Regions from separate parts of the Homo sapiens genome. Here region 2 is linked to region 1. Evidence: promoter capture Hi-C in 16 types of primary human blood cells and fetal thymus (Javierre and others, 2016). All regions are on one chromosome and are shown on one strand. Each heading gives the region's core, a stretch centred on a gene start or on the middle of the fragment in contact. The rest is flanking DNA. Distances are from core to core; before and after follow the strand shown. Region 1 holds the start of MS4A13 (membrane spanning 4-domains A13). Region 2 overlaps LOC105369321 (a long non-coding RNA gene).

Region 1 (7,596 bases), core at 1,585-4,084:
GTATTCTACTCACAAAAATTCCCCATAAAGTACATCCTGTTTTGTAAGTTACAGGTTCATACGTTCCAAAGGCTCCTTTAATTTGTCCCATATACAAAACCAATAGAAAGTACCACATGAAAATGTGAAAGATGCCAATCATAATCTGGATAGTCTGTGAGAAGAGAATTATGTTAGTACCGAAATAATGTAATTTAAAACACAATTCCAATAAGTGTTAACTATAAGAAGCATTTAACACCTTTACAAATACAAAAGTAAAACAGCAATGCACTTAATGATGTATTTCCTGGATTGGTTATCCCAGAAAAAAGGACCGATCAGGAAGGACTGAGATTTACCAAATAGGAATCAGTCATACTGAAAGCAACAGGCTGTTCAATAATAGTAGCTCTGGCCAATTCTCCTGTAAGTTAACAGTTTGATTCTATCACTGGATAGTCTCCCTACCTATCAAGTAATGGTATGAGAGAATATTGGGGTTACTTCAGAGAAAATGTGGTTACTAATCTACTATAATGCAGGAAGCCATAAATCCAACATTTTCTTGTACATTAGTAATTTATTAAAGATGAATCACTTTTTGAATTTTATAAAGGTTTGATTTATCTTTTCCTTCAAGGAGTATTTGGTATGATTTTTTTCACAAGTATGCTGGAGTGGGGCATAATCCAACACAGCAATACAGAAAATATCCAAAATGGACTCGCTTGAACTCGGTTTTCCCATTGGAAAGGGGAAGGATTTTGAATAGGGGAGAATTATTACTCAACTCTAATTTGTAAGAAGATAATTATAATCCCAGCAAATTTATTTCTGAATTTATATGTGAACTGATATTTCATATATTTAATCACATTTTTGATTACTCTTTAAAAATGACAGAGGACACATAAATTTTATTTTCATATAAACTTAAACAGAAAGCTATTTAATGTTTTAAGAGTTCCAGCTCTTTGCAAAGCAGGCAGTCTATGAAATATATAAGTGCAATTGGCTAACTTTAAAAAATACATTTTGGAGAAGTTTTGTTTTTTTTTTAAGAAAAAGTCTCTTTTTTGGTAACGATCATGCATTTTTATAGATTTAGAATTTAACGTTTCCCCTTGCATCAAATTTGCAAGAATGGTAATTTTCCAGAAATTCTTTGGATTTGCCTGGAGAAATATCTCCCACTAGACTGCAAAATCCCTTAGGGCCTGGAGTTTTTTTTTTTTTATTGTTTTATCACCAGCCTCTAATATGGTGCCCAGAATAGAGAAGGCATCCAGCAAATACCTCTTATATAAGCATACTGGTGTCAAGAATAGTGATTCCATGTGACTTTCCCAACTGTTAAAAAAGTAAGTGAGCTTGAAAAGTACTATCTCTTTTTAAATGATTGACTATTGTTTTATATAAAACCATGAGATAGCTAATTAGCCAATGCTTGTTAAGAACTGCCAGTGTGTGGAGAAGGACAAGATAGGTTTTCTTATTTAAAAATGATTCTTAATCTAGAATCAATATGAGTTCCAGGAGGTCAGACCCGCCTACCCCCTGCCCCCAGGGAAAAAAAATGCGAAGGATTGTGACATGTACATAATTCTGGAAAGAAGATTCAGAGTTTTCATTCTATGCCAAAATGGTCTGTGACCCCAAAGAGGTTAAGAACCTCTGCTGAACAGTCGTATAGGCGACTTAGATAATTGATCTATGCAACATTCAAATTCAGAAGAAAAGTTCACGAGTGGAAATGTTTTCTCCCCTTTGGATGTGAAAAAGCATGATACTCATAATTCCTTGGTGTTCATTAAGAAAGCTAAACTGTAACTTCACATGTTTATAACTTAATAGAAGAGACAAATTTATAATCATCCTACTGCATAAATGTAAGTGCAGTACTCTCTTTTTTCCTTTTAAACCTTACTTGGATTTCTCTATTATCCTGTGTGTGTTGGTTTAGTCTGTATCCCCATATCTCAGCACATGAAGGAACATGAGATCAGTCAAAATTTGTAGAAGACAATCAACATTTGAAAAAAAAAAAACTTTTACCCTTTTGATTTAACCAAGTCTGTCCCCCTTTAGATCCAATATATCCGTTAAAAAAATGAAATAGTTCATGATCTTAAATTTAGTTAGTCAAAGTGAAATCTTACCCCTAAAACGAGAGAATCTGCTGTAGAGATTTGTTAAAGAACACATGCCATACTGCCAGCATTTCCTCTAGATGATTTTCTCTTTAACCTTTGGTGATGTCTTTATTAGCAAACTTCTACAAAACAGTACAAAGCACATATACATTATTTTCTTAGAAGAAAATACGTAAGTTTGATCCTTTCCTTATTGTTCAGTCACCACCTCTCCAAATTCAGAAGCAATAGCCTTCTTTCTTCTTTCTAGGCCTTAATATTAGAGGCATCAACTTTCATCCATCTGTTCTGAATAACAGCCTTCATAACTGAAAAGTCTCTCTCTATGACTAAAACATATCGGCATTTTACAGCTATCATCTCTGAGTAGTAAATAGTGCCTACTGTTTACAGAGTATGATAGGGAGAGGAACACCGTAATCAGCCTCCGTGTCCCTTTATGGCTTCTGACACGAAAGCACTCCAGCAAAGCGACATCACTACCCTGCATTTTACTTGTTCAAGGTTCCAAGGAGTTTCGGGGGGCGCTCGTCCAGGACCCAGTCCGAGTTCTCACGCCAGCGCCCAGGCCTAGATGAAGAGGAAGATCCCGGCTGGCAACGCGCTCAGCGCCAGGTCCCCAGATCTCGCTGAGCTACCATCACAGGGATAGCCAGGAGCCCAGCACCCGGCCGGCTCTCAGGCTCCTCAGGGAGTGACGGTCTGCAATGGCAACGGTGTGCTCCTCTTGCGCCTGCGCACCCACTCAGGAACTGCCGGGGCGGAGGTAGTGCGTGTGCGCAGACTCACTAGGCTCCTGGCAGCCATGTGGTCAGACACCCGGTTAACTACGTTTTGGTGCCTCTAGGAACGGTTTCTGCAAACCTCTATTCTGAGATTGCCCATATTGGTGCATTTCTTATACACCCACCTGCTGCACAGTGACCAGGATCACTGAGGAGAAGTCCGCCCTTCACCTTTTCTGTCTTCAAAGAAAAATTTTGACCACAAGAGCACCTTTGGAAGGTGCACTTTCGAGTGAAGTGGCTAAATCAATGGCTCACTTTTTTTTTCTTTAAACATAAGTAACTGAAGAAGGAAATTAGTGATGAAAGTAATACTTAACAAGACACCAGAATGACTTTTTGATCCACTTGCTGAGGCGGGTTTACCTTTTAGGTGACACGTGGTGTTAGTTTTCTGTTTGAGGTGTAGACAGTAGTTAAAACAGTGTTTATGAAGAGGTGCTTTAGATGAGCAGTACAGACCATCCTCTTAGGCAGCTATCATGACTTACTGAGGCGTTTAAAGTACCTGGAGAACAGCCACTCAATGGCATTTCTCATTTATTCATGGAAAATTTAAATTGACATTGTGGAATAGTTAAAATTCCAGCTTGTAGTGTAAATTTTTAGTCAATGATAGCCAGTGAGTAAAACACGCAGAAAACAAGACAGATTTTTCTTTCATAAGGAAATTTTCTATGCTTTCAACACCTTTATTTGCAAAAAGCTAAATCATGAGTGTGTCTAAAAGCCATCAAGATCTTTTATAGCCTGAAAAATCAACTGTAAATTGAGAATCTTAATTTTTAGTCTCACAGCTAGCTTCCTTACATTGAGACTCCAAAGTCCCCTCAAATCAAAGGAAAAAAAAACAAAAAAAAAAAGCCCAGCCTCTTCTAAAGTCTTTACATTCTGTATTGGTCAGTATGTCATTGAAGGTAATAGTTTTATTCTTAAGTAATATACCACTTCAGTTTCTAGCATTATTATTATTTTGTGAGTTCCTTGTCTATGAGCAGACAGGGCTCCGATAATATTAAGCATTCTCTTTGCTGTAGAAAGAGGAACTGTGTCTTCAACCTCAGGGTTATGGATTTTTTAGAATCCATAGTAGTAAGAGCCAGTTCTGATGAGATGGACCGCTATTGTAACTTGCTGCCAAGACTGATTGATTATTTGTGAGAGAAGTGACATATTTCTTCATTTAAGCTTTGGCCAACAGTCTCTGGAAATTATCATGGATTTGGTCATTTTTTTGGACTGGGGCCAAAATGTGTTTTCAGTATAAACATAGGCAAAAATAGAAGAGTGAGCCAAACTATGAGACAGGCATGGTTCCTTGGTACATCTTATTTCTTCTGCTAATATCACAGATCAGTAAAAGCAACATTGATTTTCTCAGTACCTATAAACTGGATTTGGAAATTCAGAATTCACTTTAATTTTTTATCCTTTGGTTGTTAAAAACTGTATTCTTCAGCAATGAAGAGGCAATCAATCAGTCATGGTTTGACATCCAATATGACTTTTATTTCTCCATGTGGATCATATTGTTAATTTCTCTTGAATTAGTTCCCAGTATACAAAAGACATTAGTGAAAATGTGCTGGAACCACAATGCCTATATAATGTTGTTAAAACCATTGTTGGGGATTATTACAAGGACCCTGTTGGCTGTGAGCCCTGATAAAATAACTTGTCCAGATTTCTTTGAGGAATTTTATTTATTTATACACTAGAGAAAACAGATGTTTCCTCTGTGTAAACACTAGGGTGTTCTAGTAAAGTAAAATGGAAATCTATGCAAACTGGGGAAACTAAACAATTGAATTCATTGTAGAAATGCAATGTCCATACATATGTATATTTATGTAAGGTATAATCTATATGTATGTAGGTATATATATATATGCTGGTACACACACATATATATAGTAGATTTCAGTTTTCATATGTTTACTATATCACTTATATACTATTCTTTAGTAAAATGCTAATTAATAGCTTAAACTTATCTTGCTTTTTTTCCCTTTCATTTACTATGTTGAGGCAATATGTTAAGTACCTTATATTGCTTATTTAAACTTCACCACATGCCAATGATGTACATACCATTGTTATTTTCATTTTAACAGATGAGTATGCTAAGGTTTGGCGAAGTTAAGAGTCACACAGCTTATAAATGTTAAGAGTTGAGATTCTAACTCCAGCAGTGTAAGTCTAGCTCCAGAATTTGTAGCCCATCCTCCTACCCACTTTTCTTCCTCTAAGTCTCCTTCAGAAAGAGCTCTATGTTGTGACTGTCATGGAATTGCATAAAGAATATTGTTGAAGCAATCACAAGATCTAGGGATGGTTTCCAGCTCCAGTTCTGGCTGTGTGTACTCCACTCCTCTACTCTTTGAATTCATTTCTCATCTGTAAAATTAGGGTCTTGAAGTACACATTGTAGCATTGTATAAATATATGAAATGACATTTGGCCTAAAAGTCCATACCATATCCTTAAGCGTTGCCAAATACTTGGGAGAGTAGGAAGAGTTGTGAAATATAAAGTGAAATTGTGAGTGAGACCTAAATGAAATAGAGACCCCTGTGGTGTGTGTGTGGAGAAAGAGTTTGAATGAAGCCCGTTGAGCACTGCTAGGCTGCTAGAATTTAGTAACAGCAATTTGTTTATAAGAGTGAAACCAGAGAACTGAGGGAGAGGAGGAGAGCTAGGAGAAAAGAGAGAACAGTTATAAATTATAAATTTGCTTGGTTTGTTTTAAATGCAAAATGAAGAGAAAAAGGCAGAAAGCAGCAAGTTTTAGGAAAACACTGATATCCAAGGCCTCTCCAGCCTGTGGGAATTAGCAAGACATGTTAGCCTTATGGCCCAGGTGGCCTGGTTTCCACCCCCATCTGTTGAAGAATGACCCCACTTATCTGCAAATCCCAATTTCCAGAGCATTTCTGGGAGTCCCCAGAATTTTCACATTTGTTCTCCAGCAGGCATTGGCTGAGCTGTTGCTGAGTATATGGGGCAGCCACTTTCCAGATACACTGTAGTCTTCTCAGGCCTTGCTGCAGCTTCTCTGGGAGAAGGCTGCCTTACCCCAGATGCTGTCTCCCAGGGCTCCCCAAGCATCAGAGCCCTGGAGGTGTTCAAACAGCCTTGCATCATCTTCAGTCTTCCTTACAGAGAAGGAGCCTGGTTATAGTCCATGCACAAGTGAGGAGCACAGCCCTTTCTCCATAGGGATTAGACCTGGTCACCTAGGTGAGGCTGGCTACTGGATTCTGATCTTTCAGCTTGAGTATCAGATACCTGAACTCAAAATTTCTGTGGCATATTTTCCTTGATGCAAATCACCCCTGCAAATAGATGCCTAGGGACTCTGCACCCCACCCCCAGTTGTCCAAACTCAGGGTAGGTTTGGCCAGCATCTGCTCTGTGGGAAAAGGGGACAATTGTGATTGATTATTAGAGGGTTGTGACAAATGCAAAGATGTTCTGGGATAGAGAGCTTTCAGAAATTTTGTTTTGGCCAGGCATGAATCAATGACACATGTTTATCTAAGATATATTTATAGATTCTTGAAAGATTATTCTTGAGCCCATGTGTTTCATGATGAATGATCGACCGACCTTCTGTAAAGCCTTAGAATCTAGAATTAGAAGACACCCTAGAGGCCTAGAGATCTAATAATGATCTGTGCTCTTCTGAGGACGGAAGAGACTAAATATAGGAAGTACTTGAGATGTGTGTGTAATGTGTATGTGTGTGTGTAGCTTAAGTTATATTTCGTAGGCAAAGTCTCTGTATGCAAATCCAGCGTTAATTGTGCATGAAAAAAGCATGTGTTCGCTGACATCTAGATAAATCCTACTCCATTTCATTTTATATTACCCTACATGAAAAAATATGTAAAGCCTAAATTTGATGGAATAGCAGAGTTTTCATCACAAAGTAGTAGTGTAATACTTCTTTTTAAGCAAATGAATGAAAAAAATGAACATTTAAAAAAGATTTTCCAGAATGAAAATACCATAAGGGCTTTAAATAATACCACAGCAGGCATGTGACCTCTATGTTGCAATATCATATTTCTTTTTTTTTCTTTCTTCTGTACATCTGCTCATTTATTTTATTTTTTTATTTTTATTTTTTTAGTATTTATTGATCATTCTTGGGTGTTTCTGGCAGAGGGGGATTTGGCAGGGTCATAGGACAATAGTGGAGGGAAGGTCAGCAGATAAACATGTGAACAAAGGTCTCTGGTTTTCCTAGGCAGAGGGCCCTGCCGCCTTCCGCAGTGTTTGTGTCCCTGGGTATTTGAGATTAGGGAGTGGTGATGACTCTTAAGGAGCATGCTGCCTTCAAGCATCTGTTTAACAAAGCACATCTTGCACCGCCCTTAATCCATTGAACCCTGAGTGGACACAGCACATGTTTCAGAGAGCACCGGGTTGGGGGTAAGGTCATAGATTAACAGCATCCCAAGGCAGAAGAATTTTTCTTAGTACAGAACACAATGGAGTCTCCTATGTCTACTTCTTTCTACACAGACACAGTAACAATCTGATCTCTCTTTCTTTTCCCCACATTTCCCCCTTTTCTATTTGACAAAACCGCCATCGTCATCATGGCCCGTTCTCAATGAGCTGTTGGTACACCTCCCAGACGGGGTGGCGGCTGGGCAGAGGGGCTCCTC
Region 2 (7,596 bases), core at 3,360-5,859, 97 kb before region 1:
AGCTGAGATTGTGCCACTGCACTCCAGCTGGGGTGACAGTGTGAGATTCTGTCTCAAAAAAAAAAAAAAATGGAAATCTACCCTTCAAGTACTATGCTTATTACCTGGGTAATAAAATAATCTGTATACCAAACCCCTATGACATGGAGTTTACCCATGTAACAAACCTGGACATGTTAAAATAAAAGTTGGAAAGAAAAAAAAATCTTTCAATGGCTCCTTGTTGTCTTCGGGCCACAGTACACATTTCTTTGTGTGGCACATTGGAGCCAGGTATATTTGGCCTATGCTTCTTTTCCCCACACAGCACTCCATCCATTCCTGACCGCTGACATTTCCACTACCATGTGATATTTAAGTACCTTACGATTTTTAAGTGCCTTCCCATATACATCATTGCTGCTGCAAAATCTCACAATGTCACAGTATCTGGCTCTAGCAATGAGTTTGCACATTGTTGGAAAACAATAATTGCTTGCAGAATCCTTTCTATCCATTTTGGGTATCTTGTGCCTTGAGTTTTGCATTAGAGATTATATAAACAGAAACTCATATTTTGGATGATAGGAATGGTTGATTTCCAAGAACAGTGATTTTCCAAGAGTTTCCCTGATTGTGTATTCCCTTTCCTGGCTGATGTGTTACCAGGAAATGCATGATACATTACCACATTACGTATAAATGGGTAGATTTGTTTATGCCAGTCATGAAACATGTTTGGGAAGTTCAGCCTTAGAGCATAGGTTCTCTGGCATTTATTGAATTAGTTTTGGGCAGCCTTGGAAGGTTACCCCAAAGACACATACTGTCTTTCTCCATAGCAGATGAACCCAAGGAGATAGAACAGACTTGACTGAGACATGCGGCAGGTACTAAAAAGTCTTGAGAAAGCAAACCTCGGTTTCAATGTTAAGGATCAAATTGAATTTATACACGCAGACAATATGAATTTCAAGAGGCGATTCTCAGAAGAGCCACTTTTCACACGAGGACTCTGTGGCCTGCTCCAGAGGAGCAGCAGCAGAATCTACTTATATAATCCTGGTTAAGGATTCTCCCTACTAAAGCTTTGTAGGTCAGCCAGGAAAGGGAATACACACAATCAGGGAAACTCTTAAGTTACTGTTCTTGGAAATCAACCATTCCTATCATCCAAAATATGAGTTTCTGTTTATATGATCTCTAGCGCAAAACCCAAGGCGCATCTCCTAAGCTAAAAAGAATATAGAAAGATGGTAAAAGATGGAAAGTAAGAGTCATTATTGCCACAACCATGACCCTGGGATCCCCAATTCACTACACTATCTCCATATTCTCCTCCTGTGAATTAGCCAATTTATTTTTACATGAGAGGATGCTGGGTGTGTCAAACAGGTCACTTATTGAAAACACACATTGGAAGAAAAGGTATTGAAAGAAATACGTGAAAAGTGCCACAGAGTATTAATTAAGGCTCTTTCCAACTGGAAGTGGTTTGGAAAACACTGTGACTATGGGGTCGTGGGGAACACCTGACCCTCAGCAGGTGCTAGTTTTATTCCCAGCGCCAGTGCAAATCCAACCAGGGATCCCTACACTCACGCGTGGGCCAACAGAGTGTGATCTGGCAGTCAACTTCCTCAATTTGGGGCCTGGCAGCCCCGGGAGCCCGGTGGGCGCTTCCTCGGTGGCGCCCCTCACCCTGCCTCGCGGGGTTCTAACGTCCAAGAGCGGGGCTGTCCGAGAGACCCGCGCGGACACCTGAGGCGCGGTGGGGCTCCCATGGCTCCGCGGAGCCTGCAGGCTCCCAAGACGAGGGTGGGGTGGCGGCTGACAACAATGCTGCCCTTTGCTGGCTGTGTGGGCATCATCCTCTGTCCCTGGGCCTGGCACACCCAGGAGGAAGAGGCTGTGCTTGATCTGTCGGCGGACTGATCACGTGGTGGCCCCACTGCTAACCCCAGACACACCCCCGCTTAGAAGCAGCATCGTTGTCAGAAGCTCGTTGCCACTTAGAATCCTCTGCAAGATGTGGTGGGTACAGCACTGCACTTAACTCCTTTGGTCCTTAGTTTATTATTTTGTAGAGTGGAGATGATACCCGCTCAGGTACCTCATACGCTTATACTGCAGAACTTTGAAAACCAAAGATGTTTTACAAACACATTCCACTGCGATTACAAACATATTCCACTGCAATAACCGGGTGCATATATGTCCGTCATGCTGAACCTGACAGTTTGAGTTGTATATTCAGTGTTTAACAACTATCCTCAACACATAGTAGGAATAAATGAATGATTGCAAGGTTTTGTCTAATTTATTAAAGTGTTAGCATCAGCTGGCTAATGAGTAATAGATGACAGTCATGTTTGTTGAACTCTTTTATGTTTGCCGTTTTTATGATTAATGAATTTAGCAAATTTCCACTGAGTGCCAGTATGTGCTAGGCATTGTTCTCAATGCTGGGGATACTGTAGTGAACAAAACAGATGAAATTCTAATAATAAGGAAAACAATAATAAGATTCATAAGGAAAATTTATAGCATGTTAAGAATAATGAGAGCTAAGGAGAATAATAAAGTATGAAAGGGAGGTGGCGTCAATGGAAATGTAAATGAGGGGAGTCAGGAAAGTCCTCATTACAAAAAAAACTTGCACACAAATGTTCATAGGAGCATTCTTATATATTCCTAATAGCCAAAAATGAAAACAACCCAAATCCCTATCAACTCATGAATGAACAAACAATATTTGGTATATCCATATAATGTATTATTTGATAATGAAACACAACAAAGTTATAGTTTATGCTACAGCATGAATAAGCCTTGGAATCATTACGGTAAGTGAAAGAAGCAAGTCACAAAAGACGTTCATATAAAATAGCCCTGGTAGGCAAATCCACAGAGACAGAAAGTAGACCAGTGATTTGCTAATACTGAGGTAAGTGGGTGGAGAATAAGAATTACTCCTAATGGGTTTGGGTCCAAAATTAGGTGGTGTTACTTACACAACTCTGTGAATATACTAAAAGCCACTAAACTATATACTTTAAATAGGTAAATTTCAGGCTGGGCACAGTCGCTCACGCCTGTAATCCCAGCACTTTGGGAGGCGGAGGCGGGCAGATCACGAGGTCAGGAGATCAAGACCATCCTGGCTCTACTAAAAATACAAAAAATTAGTCAGGCATGGTGGCGGGTGCCTGTAGTCCCAGCTACTTGGGAGGCTGAGGCAGGAGAATGGTGTGAACCCAGGAGGCATAGCTTTCACTGAGCTGAGATTGCGCCACTGCACTCCAGCCTGGGCAACAGAGCGAGACCCCATCTCAAAAACAAACAAAGAAACAAAAAAACCCACAAATAAATAGGTAAATTTTATAATATGTGAATTATATCTCAATGAAACTGTTACAAAAATGAAAGGCAAGATGTGTGCTTTATCTCTTTACTTATGAAATTTTGAAATAATGAACACCCTCCAAGGGTGACTATGATTCTTTTTCTTTTTTTTTTTATGGGGGAAGGAGAGATTGGCCTTTTAAATTTTTATGTATTTGCTTTGTTGACCAGTGCATGGTCCATATAGTGTCACTGACTTCCTCTCCCTAGAATATAAGCTCCCTGAAGGCAGGATCTTGTCTCTTCTGTTTAAATCTGTTGCCAGAAGCAAGAATTATGCCTGGTGCAAAGTAGATTGTCAAAAAGTAGTTTATGATGAATGTATGAATAAATGGAGGAGCTACCCTATATTTACATTTGCGGCTCATTCTCTCCGGTATCTCAATTGTGATATCCTGCTCTGTGATCAAAAACAAATATCTTTCAGATCTGCCATGTCATGACTCCCTATCTAGAGCTGTTCTTTGTGTTAAACTAGCTCAGGCTCTGAAGCTGGGACCTTGTTCAAGGATGCATGTAAATGGGGTCAAAGATTGGGGCTGCAGTTGCACCTGGTCTCCACTTGCAGGGCAGACTCCCTTGGTGCTGGGTTGATTAGCTAGGAGGAAGGGGCCTCAATTTCTAATTGTACTGTTCAGAGGGGACTTACCTTCTATTTCATTTTCCCAGAGGAGCTGTTATTAAGCAATCTGTCCTTTTGAACGGGGTACTTTTGTCTAGTTTGCACAAAGGCATCTTAGGTGTTAGCAGCCCCTTTTCAGATTATTGGCCCCCAATCTCTACATTTCTTTCAAAATTTCTGGCATCATATCCTTCCTCATTCAGCCTGGATCCCACAGATCCACTAATTATCATCTTATTAAAACCCACAAATGCAAGTTTGCCACCTTGTAATGCCACCTTTTCTGTGTAGGATATTTTAGGGAAACTCTCACAATGGCATGGATAGACACCCAACAAAGATGTCATCTGAAAGTCCAGTATCTTCATCTGTGCTTCTAATTAAATCGTTGAGTATAATTTGGCCAATTTTGCCTCTGATTCCTGGCAACTCTTAATCCAAACAAGTACTTTATTCATTACCACCCCTCACTCCTAAATGACTGCCTTGTCAATTTTTTCAAAGGAAAGACAAAGTCTCTCATGTTCTTTCTTATCCTTCTCATATGGAGGAATGGATAAAGAACATTTACATTAAAGCTAATTTTTCACTATTTTCTTACTTGATCAGAATTAGGTGTCTTTCCTCTATTCTAAAGTGTAATCTGTCCCTGTGCTACTAATCTCATGTCCTTCAAAGGGCTTATAAACCTTAATCCATCAATTATCTCTTTCTCCCCAGTATATTCAAATATTACTCCCTGCTTTGTATTTCTTCTCAACCCATACATTTATGCAAGTCTCTCTCACAGTTGTGGTTTTTAGTTCATGAAGGTAGACCAAGCAGATGCTACTTATTCTTCATATGAACTCCAATTCCAAGGAGCACACTTACAAAAAAAATTCCATTGCCACATTGAAAAATAAGAAGCAACTCTCTTGGTGAACCAGAATCTGTGAATTCCTAAGAGAACAAAAGTATACAGACTAGACTGAAGAAAAACACACAATAATAAAGGACCTGCAACAGAAGACTGTTCTAAATGGTGGAAATTTTTGCACTTCATAAACAAATGGCATATATGTAAATAACACAGATACTCTAATCTTGAATTTGTATCCCCCCAAATTACTTAAGGGGCAAGATGGGGGGAACCCAGTTGCCCATTTCTGGGACAGCGAATGTATAAATGTGCGGGGTGCATGGCACAGACTTTAGGCAGCATTTAAAATCAACTGATAGAGGTACTGATAGCCACACGGATAGATCTTTAAAACTTACTGTTAGGAGGAGCAAAGTTTGTGCATGTAATTTATGGGTGTGTATGAACTTCATGGATTCCAGATACATTCCTACAATAGAATGCCATACATTTTTGGGGAGATACTGACAAATAAAATATGCATGTTTTATAAAGTGGAACAATTGCTCATGGAGGGAGGGAAGGGGGAGTGGGGTATGGAGATCAAAGAAAATTTAAAAAATAGGAAGCATCCTTATAGACACAACAAAACATTTCTAAGATAATTTGCTTAAAATTTGAGTGTGATAAGCCACAGTGTAAAATTATAGGCAAAAATATGTAACGTTTTGGGAGCTGGACTTTCTAGACAAACTAAATCCAGTAGCTATTAATTCATGTAGTCTCAATAACATAAAGATATGGCTAATTGTAATATACCTTCTTCACTGTAGGTAAGCTATGCATGTTTTAATAATATCCAGTGAGAAAGAAATAATTAGTAGTATTTAGAGCTAATAAGCAAAGAAGCCTTCACAAGCAATGGGATTATTTATCATTTATGCGAAGTCTCCTTCTCACAATGAAATAATTTTCTCGAGTTAGCATTTATTACATCATTATCAATTTTAGGTATAGATTCTACTCTAGTAACATGTGCCCATTCATAGAACTTCTCTTGTATGGAAGAATCCCTTAACTCAGGCTGACCATATTCAAACTGAGATAAATTCATGCACAGTTCCTCATGTAGACAAAAATAACCATATTCATCAATTTTAATTTTTATTAATGAAATAGGGGGAAGAGAATACTGAGATGGATTTAATGAAATTACATTTTCCAAGAAGCCTCTTGAACAGAATGAAGTTCTTCATTTGCCACTAAACTTTCCTCCTTGACTGAGCTCACTGATGGTTTCTTTAATATGCAGAGAAAGGATCTCCTTCTGCCATGAACCTGAGGTAAGTTAGATATCAGTAAATTGATCATTAGCACACTCTAAAATAAAGAACTATAGAATTTGGGTTAGAATTTTGGAAATAATTCTAATAGAAGTATTCTCCTCATTGAGATTTTTATTTTATTTATTTTTTTAGAGATGAGGTCTCTGTCACCCAGCCTGGAATGCAGTGGCACTATCATTGCTCACTGTAACTCTGAATTCCTGGGCACAAGCCCTCCTTCCACCTTCCCCTCCTAAGTAGCTAAGGACTGCAGGGATGTGCCACCACTCCTGGGTAATTTTTTCAACTTTATGCATTTTATTTTATTTTATTTTACTTTACTTTACTATTTTATTTTATTTTATTTTATTTTATTTTATTTTATTTTATTTTATTTTATTTTATATTTTTGTAGAGATGGGGTCTCATTGTGTTCCCCAGGCTGGTCTCAAAATCCTGAGCTCAAGCAATTCCCCTGCTTTAGCCTCTCAAAGTGCTGGAATTATGGGTGTGAACCACCCCACCAGGCGAGATTTTTAAATTAAACCATGTGCTTTTGATACTTTTTAGTTTTTTTCTTTGTCCTCTCTCCCTTTCTCCCTGGTTTCCATCCTCCCTTCTTTTTTGTTTCTATAGATTGAAAGCCAAAGACAATGCTATATGAAAAGACAGTCCCCAAGACAATGATTGATCATAAAGGGCATATTGTTTTCTACTCAAACTTGATTACATTATTAAGTATAGCATTGAATAGCTGTCAGTTTAAATTCTATTTAGTTGGAGTAGAAATCTATATGTTCTTATATACCCAATCCATGTTTGTTCTCTTTTCACTTTATTCAGAGAAGAATTAAGAATAAGACCTCTGTGAGTGTGTGTGTGTGTGTGTGTGTGTGTGTGTGTGTGTGTTTGGTGTGTTTTGTTTACTTTGCTTTTAGTTAGAGCCATATTTTTTTGAGATTTCGAGTTTGAATACCTTTAGATGGAACTTCAGCTCCCCATTTTAATACCTTACTTAAAGAAGATTCATTGAAAGGCAATCAGTGATCCAGATAACAGGTTTTCAATACCCTAATTCATCTGGAATTATAGCTAATTCACATGTTTTGAAAAGCAAGTGACTTTTGCAGTACAAATGAAGATGTAGCCTCTGAGTGTCAAGAGAAAGTGGGAAATACAAGAAAAGAAATCTATATGATAAATTCCTCTCCCTCCTAATTCATTTTATCAGTTTAATTCAAAATAGAGATTCCTAAACAAAGCTATTTACAAATTAAGATGGTAAACTTAACAAGGCATATTTATGGAATGATAAGTAAATTGGTGAGGCTGGAGCACAGCATTTATGGGCGTGAGTGGTAGGAAATGAAGTCAAGAAAGTAGATTGGGCTAAATTATTACAGAAATGAATGTTGTGCTAGAAT

Evidence for each region. Contacts are between HindIII fragments. The CHiCAGO score rates a contact against its expected background, and 5 or more counts as called.
Region 2: a fragment that was not itself captured here is called in contact with the fragment with the promoter of MS4A13 in region 1 in 2 of 17 cell types (naive B cells and total B cells); the score reaches 6.5 in naive B cells.

The regions. Positions count from the first base shown.
Region 1 is chr11:60,510,630-60,518,225 of GRCh38, reverse strand. MS4A13 (membrane spanning 4-domains A13) reads right to left here and starts at 2,834. Exons shown (of 7, transcript NM_001012417.3): 1 at 2,619-2,834; 2 at 2,142-2,257; 3 at 14-154. The coding sequence starts at 142. The HindIII fragment of the contact is 9,060 bases long and covers 1-4,110 here.
Region 2 is chr11:60,609,838-60,617,433 of GRCh38, reverse strand. LOC105369321 (a long non-coding RNA gene) reads left to right here. Exons shown (of 6, transcript XR_001748240.2): 5 at 6,027-6,190. LINC00301 (long intergenic non-protein coding RNA 301) reads right to left here and starts at 1,683. Exons shown (of 7, transcript NR_026946.1): 1 at 1,582-1,683. The HindIII fragment of the contact is 7,080 bases long and covers 1,070-7,596 here.